Regions from separate parts of the Homo sapiens genome. Here regions 1, 2, 4 and 5 are each linked to region 3. Evidence: promoter capture Hi-C in human tissues and cell types (Jung and others, 2019). All regions are on one chromosome and are shown on one strand. Each heading gives the region's core, a stretch centred on a gene start or on the middle of the fragment in contact. The rest is flanking DNA. Distances are from core to core; before and after follow the strand shown.

Evidence for each region. Contacts are between HindIII fragments. The study calls those that stand out against the background at their distance.
Region 1: a contact is called between a fragment that was not itself captured here and the fragment with the promoter of VDAC2 in region 3, in 2 of the 25 tissues and cell types used here (aorta and heart right ventricle).
Region 2: a fragment that was not itself captured here is called in contact with the fragment with the promoter of VDAC2 in region 3 in 1 of the 25 tissues and cell types used here (stomach).
Region 4: a contact is called between the fragment with the promoter of NDST2 here and the fragment with the promoter of VDAC2 in region 3, in 1 of the 25 tissues and cell types used here (spleen).
Region 5: a fragment that was not itself captured here is called in contact with the fragment with the promoter of VDAC2 in region 3 in 1 of the 25 tissues and cell types used here (lymphoblastoid cells).

Annotation. Positions count from the first base shown.
Region 1 is chr10:74,129,264-74,131,963 of GRCh38, forward strand. It overlaps AP3M1 (adaptor related protein complex 3 subunit mu 1), which reads right to left. Exons shown (of 9, transcript NM_012095.6): 5 at 644-729. Among named protein-coding and RNA genes, the nearest start is that of AP3M1, 20 kb to the right of the region's middle. The HindIII fragment of the contact is 5,109 bases long and covers 1-2,700 here.
Region 2 is chr10:73,954,632-73,957,331 of GRCh38, forward strand. No RefSeq gene overlaps it. Among named protein-coding and RNA genes, the nearest start is that of C10orf55, 33 kb to the left of the region's middle. RefSeq lists enhancers at 1,990-2,089, 2,277-2,700. The HindIII fragment of the contact is 8,231 bases long and covers 1-2,700 here.
Region 3 is chr10:75,209,396-75,212,095 of GRCh38, forward strand. It overlaps VDAC2 (voltage dependent anion channel 2), which reads left to right and starts at 1,401. Exons shown (of 10, transcript NM_001391963.1): 1 at 1,401-1,543; 2 at 1,739-1,794. The coding sequence starts at 1,764. RefSeq lists enhancers at 724-1,305, 1,036-1,330 and silencers at 975-1,284, 1,305-1,674. The HindIII fragment of the contact is 11,244 bases long and covers 1-2,700 here.
Region 4 is chr10:73,810,248-73,812,947 of GRCh38, forward strand. It overlaps NDST2 (N-deacetylase and N-sulfotransferase 2), which reads right to left and starts at 1,351. Exons shown (of 15, transcript NM_003635.4): 1 at 1,227-1,351; 2 at 552-656. CAMK2G (calcium/calmodulin dependent protein kinase II gamma) reads right to left here. Exons shown (of 23, transcript NM_001367534.1): 23 at 2,254-2,700. NDST2-ZSWIM8-AS1 (NDST2-ZSWIM8-AS1 readthrough) reads right to left here and starts at 1,573. Exons shown (of 18, transcript NR_182658.1): 1 at 1,227-1,573; 2 at 552-656. RefSeq lists silencers at 786-855, 1,156-1,865. The HindIII fragment of the contact is 10,328 bases long and covers 166-2,700 here.
Region 5 is chr10:74,200,713-74,203,412 of GRCh38, forward strand. ADK (adenosine kinase) reads left to right here. Exons shown (of 11, transcript NM_006721.4): 2 at 52-126. Among named protein-coding and RNA genes, the nearest start is that of ADK, 51 kb to the left of the region's middle. The HindIII fragment of the contact is 4,846 bases long and covers 1-2,700 here.

The DNA of each region.
Region 1 (2,700 bases), core at 115-2,614, 1.1 Mb before region 3:
TCGTTCATAGACTATAATGAATATGGGAACTGTACTCAGATACCTTGACAAATATGTTCCCTGAAGATAAAGCAGTCATGGAAGAGTTTATGACCACATCTACACAACCTTATAGTTTCATAATGCTTTAAAGTTTGTAAATATTTTATGTACATTATTTTATTTGAATTTCAATAACTATAAAGGAGAAAAGGCAAGTAGTATTATTTCCCTTTAACAGATTAAAAAACTGAGGTTCAGAGGACTTAAGGTCAGAGCAAACTGGTGACAACACCAGAAGTCAGTTCTCTTAATTGTTCCTAGCAGTATATCATGCTGACTCTAAAATGATACAAAAGACCAGTGTCCTTTCATATCAGCAAAGCAAATAATTATTCAGTAAAAATGATACTGGATATTTGCAGAAGCCAGCCAGCCAATTTTAAGCCCCTTCTAGCACACTCAGGCAAAGACCTCCCTTAGTCTTTCCACAAAGACCACGCTCATCATGTAAGCGACTGTCTTAGGAAACTCTGCTAGGAATATTTCTGAGATAATCCTTTGCAATCTAAGATGCAAACTTATCTCAATATTTATCATTTCATTTAGTACTTCACATGTATTAGGCATTCAAGGGGCTATAAAACAGGAGAATAAAACTTACCATGAAAGAAAGGGAGAGATCAGGCATTCCAGATAGTTTAATGCAAGCATCAATGACCCCCTGAATTTCTGCAAAGACTGTAGATCCTGAAGAAAGAAAAAAAAAAGGAAGATAACATCAATGGAATATGAGTCTTCACTAGACCTATCACTGTATCTTTTTATTTTTATTTATTGTTTTTAGAGACAGAGTCTTGCTCTGTTGCCAAGGTTGGAGTGCAGTTGTATGATCATAGCTCACTGCAGCCTCACTCCTGGGCTCAAGTAATCCTCCTGCCCTAGCCTCCCAAATAGCTGGGAATATAGGTGCGTGCCATGACACCTAGCCCAACAATCACTACATCTAGAACAATAGAGATACCCTCTGGGTGTCAGATTAACTGAAGCTTTACATCTCTATTAACAGGTCAGGGGACAAGGTCCATACTTAACTCTGGCTGGAATATAATAATAATTCTTTTATTTTTAAGAGATAAAGTCTGACTAGCTAGTCCCAGCTGGTCCCCAGAGTAACTGAGACTACAGGTATGCCACTGTAGAATATAATTTTTTTTTTTTTGAGACAGGGTCTTGCTCTGTCACCCAGGCTGGAGCGTAGTGGTGCTATGATAGCCAGCCTCAACCTCCTGGGCTCAAGCAATCCTCCCACCTCAGCCTCCCAAGCAGCTGGTACTACAGGCATGCACCTCCACGCCTGGCTAATTTTTGTATTTTTTTTGTAGAGACAGGGTCTTGTTATGTTGCCCAGGCTGGTCTCAAACTTCTGGGCTCAAGCAATCCGCCTACCTTAGCTTCCCAAAGTGCTGGGATTACAGGTGTGAGCTACCATACCCAGCCAGAATATGCTAATTCTAAGGAAAATTAAACTGTTTCCTTTATGGAGCCAACCCTGTAAGATGACTGGATATGAGTTTAAAACATTTGGCAGGACGCAGTGGCTCATGCCTGTAATCCTAGCACTTAGGGAGGCTGACGTGGGTAGATTATCTGAGCTCAGGAGTTTGGGACCAGCCTGGGCAACATGGCAAAACCCCGTTTCTACTAAAAATACAAAAAATTAGCCAGGCGTGGTGGTGTGTGCGTGTAGTCCCAGCTACTTGGGAGGCTGAGGCAGGAGAATCGCTTGAACGTAGAAGGCGGAGGTTGCAGTGAGCTGAAACCACAACACTGCACTACAGCCTGGGCGACAATGTGAGACTCTGTCTCAAAAACAAAATAAAACAAACCAACCAAAACCATTTTCAATAGAATTTTATTTTTTTTTAATTTTTTTTTTGAGACGGAGTCTTGCTCTGTCACCCAGGCTGGATGGAGTGCAGTGGCGCTATCTGGGCTCACTGCAAGCTCTGTCTCCCGGGTTCACGCCATTCTCCTGCCTCAGTCTCTCGAGTAGCTGGGACTACAGGCGCCTGCCACCACACCCAGCTAATTTTTTGTATTTTTAGTAGAGATGGGGTTTCACTGTGTTAGCCAGGATGGTCTGGATCTCCTAACCTCGTGATCCACCCGCCTCAGCCTCCTAAAGTGCTGGGATTACAGGTGTGAGCCACCGCGCCCGGCTTCAATAGAATTTTAAAATGTGGCAAGTGTATTATGAAATGGACTAAGTTAACTTTTAAGAAATAGGATCCATAATAGAAAGATATCTCTTTTTTTTTAAGAGACAGGGTCTCCCTCTGCCATCCAGGCTGGAGTACAGTGGTGTGAACATAGTTCACCACAGCATTGAACTCCTGGGCTCAAGCAATCCTCCTGCCTCAGCCTTCTGAATAGGTAGGATTAAGGAAGCCATGCCTAGCTAATCTTTTAAATTTTTGATAGATATGGGGTCTTGCTATGTTGCCTAGGCTGGTCTTGAACTCCTGGGCTCAAGTGATCTTCCTGCCTAAGCCTCCCAAAGTGCTGGGATTACAGGTGTGAGCCACCGTGCCTGGCAAAAATCTATTATTCTATAAGATGGAATGTTATAATGAAAAGGGGACTCATGGAAGAGAAGATATTGACTATAATTCACAATAAGCCATCATTACATATTAACAAGTTGTGTGACCTGGAACA
Region 2 (2,700 bases), core at 3-2,502, 1.3 Mb before region 3:
TTCTTCTGCCTCAGTGGGGATTGCAGGTGTGCACCACCATGCATGGCTTTTTTTTTTTTTTTTTTGGTATTTTTAGTAGAGACAGGGCTTCACCATGTTGGCCAGGCTGGTCTTGAACTCCTGACCTCAGGTGATTCACCCCCACTTGGCCTCACAAAGTACTGGGATTACGGACATGAGCCACCATGCCCAGCCAGATTGAGTGTTTTATGATGCTGCATAGGCTTTGGAATAAGAAAGACCTGATTTCTCACCCTCACTCTAATGGCTAAAATGAAAAGACTGACAATTCCATGTGTTAACAAGGATGTAGAACAACTAGAACTCTCGTACAGGGCTGTTGGGAATATAAAATGGCCCAATCTCTTTGGAAAATTGTTTGGTGTACTTAATAAAGTTAAACATATTTCCCCCTAATAAGAATGTTCATGGCAGTGTTATTCAAAATAGCCTGAAACTGGAAAGAAAAATCTAAGTATTCAACAGGAGGATGGATAAATAAATTGGGTGGTAGATTCATAAAACGGAATACAATTCAGCATAAAAAAGGAACATACTGCTGGTACAGCAATGTGGGAAAATCCACAGACATACTATATGGAACAGAAGAAACCACATACAAGAATATGATTCTATTTTTTCTTTTTCTTTTTTTTGGGAGACAGAGTCTAGCTCTGTTGCCCAGGCTGGAGTGCAGTGGTGCAATCTCAGCTCACTGCAACCTCTGTCTCCTGGGTTCAAGTGATTCTCATGCCTTAGCCTCCTGAGTAGCTGGCACTACAGGTGTGTGCCACCATGCCCAGCTAACTTTTTGTATTTTTGGTAGAGATGGGGTTTCACCATGTTGGCCAGGCTGGTCTCGAACTCCTGACCTCAGGCAATCTGCCTGCCTCGGCTTCCCAAAGTGTTAGGATTACAGGTGTGAGCCATCACTCCTGGACAAGAATATGATTCTATTTACACGAAGTTCGAGAATAGGTAAAATTAATCTATGAGAATAGAGGTCAGAATATTGGTTACATTGGAGGCTAGGGGGAGTGAGTATTTGCTGGAAAGGGGCATGAAGGAACTCTGGAGTGTGATAGAAATAGTCTCATTTTGATCCGGGTGGTGGCTACATGGACATAATGGTATAAGTGTATACCACATATTATGTGGACAATTATGTGGACATGGCCTAATATATTACATAGTAGGTATATGTAAGTTATAGTTCAATAAAGTACTATGTGAGAGAGAAAGGAGGAGGAGGAAGAGGAGAAAGAAAGAAAAGAAAGAAAGGAAGAAAGAAAGAGAGGGAAAGAAAGAAAGTAAAAAAAAAATCCTGATTTTGATTTTGGTTTCCAGTTCTGCCCCTGTGACCCTTGGACAATTGACAACATTTCTGAGCCCCTTTCCTCACCCATAAAATGAGGATCACAGGCCAGGCTAGGTGGCTCACACCTATAATCTCAGCAATTTGGGAGGCCAAGGCGGGAGGATTGCTCAAAGCCAGGAGTTTGAGACCAGCCTGGGCAACAAAGTGAGGCCTGTCTCAACAAAATAAAAAAATTTTTAAATTAGCCAGGTGTGGTGGCATGAGCCTATAGTCCTAGCTACTCAGGAGGCTGGGGTGGGAGGATCCCTTAAGCCCAGGAGGTGGAGGCTGCAGTGAGCCCTGATTGCCTCGTTGGACCCCAGTCTGGGCAACAGAGCAAGTCCCTGTCTCTAAAATAAAATAAAATAAATAAATAAGGGATCCTAATAGTACCTCTCTCATAGGGTGGTTTGAGAGTCAAATGAGATAATGCACAAAAATCTCCTAGCCCAAGAGCCTGAAGCACCCTAAAAGTTCGGGAAACTGTATTCTTACTGTTGGCCCCTTACCTACCATCTCCTCCACCAGGAGCTGGCCCCTGAAGCCTCACCCCAAAAGAACGGTTTCTGCCCCCGGGTTATGTCAGGTCCTTAGGTGGAACTCTGAGTCCCACATCACTAAATGCTGACATGCCCGCAGAATCCAGGAGGCTCCAGTGACTAGAAAGAAGTTTCATCAAATTTGAACAGGAAGCAGCAGTGGCAGCTGATAATCTGTGACCTGAATATAGCTATCCATTATCTCACTGTGGTTTCTGGTTTCCCTGACAGAGAAAACGCCCACAACTTTCTTAAAGTTATTCTAAACACTCAGTTCCTTGTTTGGCTTTGGCAGGATAATGTTACCCCTGGGTGCCCCTGTGCTTTGGGCTGTGGCCTCCCTGCCAGCCTGAGGCTCCAGCTCTTCAGCCAATCTGTGGGGCAACCGTCCCTTCCACTCAGAGGGCAGTGACAGGAGCAGACCAGGAAAGAGGCCGCCAGTATCTGCAGCCATTGGAAGTGGGGGGGAAAAGCAAGAAACCTTAAATACAGCATTCTTGTTCCTCTTCAAGAAACCAGCCAGGCAGGACTGACATGCCGGGAGTGAGCCACCAGCTGCTTCTCACCATCACTGGTTTCTAAATTACGCTCCATTCCCAATTGCTTCTCTCTGGTTCTGTTCTCAGGAAAGCAAATCTGCCCTCCTAGTTCCTCCACCTCCAAATGAGGAGCTGAGCCCAGGCCCAGGACACAGGTTTGGCAGAAAAGCCGTTACCTCTTGTTATTGTAAAACCCAGAGTCCAAGAGGCTCCCAGACAATAGGCAAAGTAGGCAAAGTTTGTTTTTGCCTTCTCTTCCCCAGCC
Region 3 (2,700 bases), core at 151-2,650:
ACCTGTTTGGGGATTTTTGTTTTGAGACAGGGTCTTACTCCAGCGGGCAGGCTGGAGTGCAGTAGTGGCACCATCTAAGCTTACTACAGCCTCAACCTCCCAGGCTCAAGCGATCCTCCCTCCTCAGCCTCCCAATTAGCTGGGACTACAGGCGCCAGCCACCACGCCCGGCTATTTTTTTTTTTTTTTTTTTTTTTTTTGGTAGAGGCAGGGTATTACTATGCCTAGGCTGGTCCGGAACTCCTGAGCTCAGGCGATCCGCCCACCTCGGCATCCAAAAGTGCTGGTATTACAGGTGTGAGCCACCGCGCCCAGCCTGTTTGGGGATCTGGCTAGCATCTGTTTCTCTCCTGATTTCTTGGAAGGTCAGATAAAGATCCTAGCTTTGGCGTGGTAGTGTGAAACTTCAGCATGAGTAACCCCATTTTGGTTTGGTCTGATGGGCCTAATGCAGGAGGTCAGTCTAAACTAACGGTCTCCCATATACATTTTATCTAATAGCTCTGTCACCCTTCCTGCACACCCGGGGAACTCGGGTGCGGCATTCTAACGCCTGCTCAGCATGATTCCACATTTTCTCCAGGCCCATAATCCAGAGGAGGTTGGGCCCGGAGCAGGCTTGCCTCGCCAAGCTCCGGCTCCGTGCGTGTGTGAAGCAGTGCCATGCCTGAGTGGGGAGGAGCCGCGGAAGAGAAAGCGTAAGGCGGCGTGGAAATGGGTGGGGCACGCTAGGACCCGCTCACATTTGTTCAGGGAGAGGCAGTCCCAAAAAGCCTCTCAGGCACACAACCCAGCACAGCAAGGCAGTCACACCAAGGTGGGAAAAGAGGGCAGAAGAGCGCGAGGGGCTGGAGGTGGCGCCCCTGTGTCCCACTCGTTCTCCCTGGGCTGGGAAAGAGAAGCGGTCCCTCAGAAGCGCAGGCTGCGCTAGCTTAGGATGGACGTGGGTAACGCTCAGCTGACTCCCCGCAGGCACCCTATGCAGGGCTTTGTTTCGGGGGGGAACCCGCACCAGCGCGTAAGGGGAGTAGGAGAGATCTACGTGACCCTGGTGCGCAGCCGCGCCCTATCGCCCCGGCCACGCGCCGACGCCCCGCCCCGTCCGTGACGCGTTCGCGCGGGGCCTCCGCCCCATCCCCCTCCCAGGCGGTCCCCAGCGCGCTGCCTCCGCCGTTCCCCGCCCCCTCGCCTCTGAGGCTGCCCGGATAGCTGCCTGATCCAAGGCCCAGCAGCTTCTGCCTTCCGGATCCCCACCGACGGACGGAGGCAGCCCACCTGCAGGACCGGGGCGCTGTCGGTCCACGTGGCCGCTCTGGAGCAGGTTGGAGTTGGCAGCGGGCTGCGCTGCAGGGACAGGCGCGGCGGACAGCCCCGGGGGCAGCGGCGGGGTCCTGTCTGGGAGAGGACAGGGTTGCGGCGGGCGGAACGGTGTCTCCTTCACTTCGCCCTCCAGCTGCTGGAGCTGCAGCCCGACCGCGAGCGTGCCAAGCGGCTTCAGCAGCTAGCGGAGCGGTGGCGGCGGCCCCCCTCAGGACACCACCAGGTACCGCCGCGCCCGCCTCACGCCGACCCAGGGGCCTAGGCCGCGGCGGCCAAGCCGGAGGCCCGCGCCGGACTCGGAGTCGGCCCTGGCTTCCTAAGATGGCCGCGCTGCCCCGCGGCCCCTCGCCCCTCTCTGCCCGGGATCTCCCTTTGGCCCTTTGACCCCAGCTTACCGCACTTCTTGTCCCTCCCGCAGATTCCCCTCTTCCCGCGGCCTCGCCATGGCGACCCACGGACAGACTTGCGCGCGTCGTAAGTAAAGCTGGGATCTCTGCGGGATGGGGCGGCGGAGAGTCGAAGCCTGTCGACCAGAAACCCAGTTTGTTTCCCCCTATCTTTCCAAGAACTTGGAAATTCGGCTGCTTTTGGTGGTCGCCCCACCGTCTGACCACCTCCTCTGCGGAGGAGGGGCTGGGCTGCTGGATTTCAAATGGGGAACAAGGCCCGGGGAGTTGGTCTGTGGCCGCATGGACTTTTCAGCCTTTGTACATGTCTTTGACGTATAGAAGTAAAAAGTTGTTAATTGGGGATTCTGCCTTTGGAGGATCGGATCAATCACTTTTCTAGAGGAAGTAGCAGTCCCTCTTGTGAGAGCGCAAGGTCATTACTTGTGCTCCTAAGGGCGTGGACGTGCTTTGTGGAATGAATGAGCTGGTGTAATGAGCTCAGATTGCCTGCCCTTAAGCAGCACAGCATTGGCCGAGGACTTGAGAGTCACATTAGTAAGTTTGAAGCGCTATTTGATATTTAGTTGATGTAGACATTTGAGTGAAACACACATGGCAGTATTTTTTCCAAGTTTCAATATTTAAATTCCCAGTATTAAATTCTCTTCCCACTCCAGGGTGTTGGTTTTCCCCTCAGCGAAGATATTAAAGGACGTATCAGGGTAAAGGGCCTAGTCTTAGGTTTCGGTTTTATCTAATTTAGTTAAATCAGCTCATCTCAGTGAATTTTGGCAGATACATAAATATCCATACACACAAATACTTGTTTGATTCTTTGTACTTGTCCAGTCCTAGGAAGTGAGGCTGTAGGTAATAGACTGTTTTTCCGTTTTGAAACGAATTCCCCAAGTTTGTATAATCATGGTTATCTGTTTTAGAAATAATTCGTTGGTGGTATCTCCTTTATGGGTCGTTATAGTTCTATTGTAGC
Region 4 (2,700 bases), core at 101-2,600, 1.4 Mb before region 3:
AGGAGTTCGAGACCAGCCTGGCCAACATGGTGAAGCCCCGTCTCTACTAAAAATACAAAAATTAGATGGGCATGGTGGTGGGCGCCTGTAGTCCCAGCTACTCAGGAGGCTGAGGCAGGAGAATCACTTGAACGTGGGAGGCGGAAATTGCAGTGAGCTGAGATTGTGCCACTGTACTCCAGCCTGGGTGACAGAGCTAGACTCCAGCTCAAAAAAAAATAAAAATAAAAATAAAAATAAAACAGTTCAGCTTTGGCCTAGGTAAAACGACACGAGAAGACAGCTGGGGGAGAGGATCAAAATGGTGACGGGAAGGGGTGAATGCTAAGAATGTGATGCAACTTTAGAGAAAACATTGTAGTGAGGAGGTCACTGACGGGAAGTTGATACTCAGGGTGTATCATCCCGTATTTGAGAAATTACAACTTGCCAGCCATTCTTCTAAGAGCTTCACATATATTTAATCTTCACACCAGCCCTAAGAGGTAGGGAAAAGGTACATGCTCCATTATCCCCATTTCACATATGAGTAACTCAGAGAAGCTTAGAACCTTGCCCAGGATCACACAGCTCAGTTGGTGGGAGGGCTGGGATTCGACGTCAGGCCTGTCAAGCTCCAGAGCCGCGTTCTTAGCCGCTGCATTTTAGCTTCATACCTGGAAGAAGCAGCAAGGTTTAGGGAAGGGGCGCCGGGAGCGCCGCAGGCCGGGCCAGTGAACACTGAGGGCCAGCAGGGCTGGGCGGGGTGGGTGTGTGCGGGAGATCTCTGAGGACGGCGAAGCCAGACGGGGGCCGGGGCCGGGCCCGGGCTTGGGGAGGCCGGGACGGCCGGAGCAGCGGCGCGGAGGCTGCGGGCGCCGAGGGGGCCCGGGGCTGGCGGGTGGAGGGGCCCCGCCGAGAGGAGACGGGGGCACAGGTGGATGCGAAGAGCGCACCGGATGTGGGACACCAAAGGGGAAGGGGCCACAGGCGCGCGGCGGCGACTCCGGGGTGACATCGAGACAGCCTCTGGGCTGGGAGAGCCCTGCGGGAAGAAGGGAGCCCGCCCGGTCCGGAGGGGAGCGAGGCGGTTCTGAGGGAGGCCGGCGGAAAGGACCCGGGGCGCGGCGCACGCTGGGCCGCCCGGGACGACCCTGCGGGTGGTGATGGTGGCAACATCCAAGGGAGTCTGTTGGGGGGGCCTGAGCGCGACCGTGGGCGGGGGGGTCTCCTCAGGGGCGGCTCACCCGGAGGACTGGGCGGCGTCCCCGCTGTCCCCGGGCTCCGCCGCGTCCCGGGGCTGCCCGGCTTCCCTGCTTTCGGGGCCACGGGCCGCGTCGCGGCTGCTCCGCCATCTCCGAGCGAACGCTCTGCCGCAGCCTGGCCCAACCACCGCTCCCACCGGGGGAGGCGGCGCGCCGCCGCTGGTGGCACCCGCTCGGATCCACCGGCTCCGGCCCTAGCAGCCGCGCGACCTGGGTTCCGGGAAATCAAGCGGCCCTCCGCAGTGCCGGGCCGAGCCGCGGCCTCCGAGACGGCGGGCTCCGCGCCCCGCCCGCGGAAGCGCACCCCCTCCTCTCCGCGCGATGGCACTGCCGGCCGAGCGTCGGGGACCACGACTTCGGAGCAGGGGCGGGCTCAGGCCTGGGCTCATCCACTCAGCCCCGCGGAGGGGGAGCCGGGCCGGCCCACTCGGGGGAGGGGAGGAGTAAGAGGCGGAGCGGCCTAACCGGAGGCGGGACCAGGGGCGGGGCGAGGCCCTCAGCCGGCTCCCAGGGCACTCACCCTCCCTCCCCGCCCCGCGTCGCCTGCGCAGCACCGAGCGCTGTTTGGAGGCTGTTTATGAGAAGTTTTTTTTTTTTTTTTTTTTTTTTTTTTTTTTTTTTGAGACGGAGTCTCACTCTGTCGCCTGGGCTGGAGTGCAGTGGCGCGACCTCGGCTCACTGCAACCTCCCCCTCCCAGGTTCAAGCGATTCTCCTGCCTCAGCCTTCCGAGCAGCTGGGATTACAGGCGCCCGCCACTATGCCCAGCTAAATTTTTTGTATTTTTTAGTAGAGACGGGGTTTCACCATATTAGCCAGGCTGGTCTCGAACTCCTGACCTCGTGATTCGCCCGCGTCGGCCTCCCAAAGTACTGGGATTACAGGCATGAGGAAGTTTTATTCTCAAAAGTACCCAAAGGGAGTAGGAGGAGGTACTCTCTCCAACCTGGTAAGCCAGGCTGCTAAAATCTACGCCTCTGGCCGTAAACCTCCAACAGCAGTAACACAATGGACTGTTTAAAGGTTATTTTATTAAATATTTTCAGTTCAAGGTTTCATTGTAACAAAGCTATGAAGGGTCTACCAACATTCAGAACAAACACTATTTTTAAATTATTTCTATGTTGTCATGCAAAAATTCTGCATCAAATGCCTTCCGTTTCTTGTTTAAAAGGTGATTTTTTAATAGTCTATTGTCTATAGATGCTGACATTAGCCCCAGAAGAGGAGTAAGAATGCTAAGAAGTGGGGCTGGAGCAGCCATATGAAGCTATGGGTCTCAATGAATTCTAAGACCATTTGTCTTCAAGCCAGCAAAACGAAACCCTGTGGTGAAGGGATTTGCGTGCTGGCACTGCAGACTGCAGGGCAGGAAAGGGCTAGGGCCCAGGGGCTGGGACATGCATGAGGTGCTCGGAGGAGCCTGGCTAAATCCAAGCACCAGCACCTGTGAGTCTG
Region 5 (2,700 bases), core at 119-2,618, 1.0 Mb before region 3:
TATCAACTTACTTTTAGAAGTATTTCTAACTTGTGTTTTGTGTTTTTTTAGAGAAAATATTCTCTTTGGAATGGGAAATCCTCTGCTTGACATCTCTGCTGTAGTGGACAAAGATTTCCTTGATAAGTAAGTATTAAACTCTTCATATGCACTATGTGGAACTTACATTTGAAGAAGAATGGATGAAAACTTTAGAAGTGAATTTACCACCGAATGTCTTCAATTAAAGGAAAACTCAGGAAATTTAAGTTTGGTGATAGCAAGTGTGCTATCATTAACTATTGAATAACTGAGTACAGTTTTCCTTGGGAAAACTTATATACATTGCTATTTTTACTTAAAACTTTTTTGCTTATTATTTGGAAGGAGAAAAGTTTATATAATTTACCTAATTATTTAATTCCCCAACTTTTAAACTACTGTCAGTGAGCTACGTCTATAATGGTATCATAATCTACAGACATTCTACCCCGAATGTGCCCAGTCTGGTTTCCTCTCAGAAGCTATAATGGGAGAAGAAAGATGATTAGAGAAGACAAGAGAACGTGCAGGATATAATTCAGAGGATATGAAGCTCTGCTGTTTCCGCTTTATTAGTAACTTCCAATGTTTCAACTTAGCTGAGAAATCAGTTTGTTTATTTACCTAAGTATTTGAGGCCATTTCGTACAATAGTCCCCACTTGTGTCCTTGTTTTCAGTTTCTGAGGTCTCAGTTACCCATAGGACAGTGTAATAAGACATTTTGAGAGAGAGACATGCACCACGTCCACATAACTTTTATTACAGTATATTTTAATAGTTGTTCTATTTTTAGTTAGTTGTTGTTAATCTCTTATTGTGCCTAATTTATAAATGAAACTTTATCATAGTATGATGTGTAGGTATGTATGTGTAGGAAAAACAGTGTGTGTGTGTTTGTGTGTGTGTGTATATGTATGTATGTATGTATGTATGTATGTATGTATCTATCTATCTATCTATCTATCTATCTATCTATCTATCTATCTATCTATCTATATATGGTTCAGTACTATCCATGGTTTCAGATACCCACTGGTCATCTTACAATGCATCTACCTCGGATAACGGGGGCACTACTATATGGCAAATTTAAGTAGTAAAAAAGATTAATGATGAGAAAGCAAGATCCCCCCTCTCCTCACACACCCTGATTTCTGTACCCAAGAGTAATTACTTTTTAAAAAATTGAGGCAAAATTTATATCGCATAAAATTGATCGTTTTAACCATTATAAAGTATACAATTCAGTGACTGCCAGTATATTCACAAAGTTGTACAACCATCACCACTATCTAATTCAGGACATTTTCATCACCCCAAAATGAAATCCCATACCCAGTAAGTAGTCATTCGCTATTCCCTCCTCTAACCCAGTCTCCTGGGAACTACTAGTATACTTAGTTTTTCTATGAATTTGTCTATTCTGAGCATTTTATAGAAATGGAATCATATAATAATATATGATCTTTTGTGTTTATATATATGACCTTTTGTGTTTGGGCTTATTTTACTTATGTAATGCTTTCAAGGTTCATCCATGTTGTAGCATGTATCAGTCCTTCATTCCTTTTAATAGTGGACTATTCCATTGTGTGGATAGACCACATTTTGTTTATCCATTCATTGGTTGATGGACACTTATGTTGTTTTTATTTTTTGTCTATTAGGAACAATGCTTCTTATGAATATTCATGTATAAGCTTTTGTGTAGGAATGTGTTTTCATTTCTCTTGGGTATACACATAGGAGTGGAACTGCTGGGTCACATGGTAATTCTGTGTTTAACTTCTAGAGAAACCACCAAACTGTTTTCCAAAGCAGCTGCACTGTTTTGCATTCCTACCGGCAGTGCATAAGTGTTCCAGTTTCTCTACGTCTTTGCCAAAGCTTATTTTTTATTTTTTAAATTATAGCCATATGAGTGGGTGTGAAATGATGTCTCATTGTGATTTTGATTTGCATTTTTCTATTGAAAACTTTTGATGTTAGCATCTTTTCATATGCTTATTGGATATTTGTATATCTTTGGGAAAATGTTGAAGCTCTTTGCCCATTTTTTAATTGGGTCGTTGTCTTTTTGTTAAGTTGTAAAAGTTCTTTTTATATTCTGGATACTAGACCCTATCAGCTAGCATATGATTTGCAAACATTTTCTCCCATTCTGGGGATTTACTTTAATTTTTTGATAGTATCCTTTGATGCACAAAAGTTTTAAATTTTGATGATGTCCATTTTATTTTTCTTTTGTTGCTTATGCTTTTGCTGTCATATGTAAGAATCTATTGTTAAATCCAGGATCACAAAGATTTGTGCCTGTGTTTTCTTCTAAGAGTTTTGTAGTTTAAGGTCTTAGATTTAGGCATTTGATCAATTTTGAGTTAATTTTTGTATAAGGTATGAAATAAGGGTTCAACTTTATTCTTTTGTGTGTGGAAATCCAATTGTCTCAACATCATTTGTTGAAGAGACTATTCTTTTCCCCACTGAATGATCTTGATACTCTTGACAAAATCAGGTGACCATAGATATATGGGTAAATTTCTGGACTCCATTCTATTCCATTGATACATATGTCTGTCCTTATGCCAGTATGACATTGGTGTTTTTGTGTATGTGTGTTTTGTTTTTTGTTTTTTTTTTGGAGACAGGGTCTTGCTCTGTCACCCAGGATGGGGTG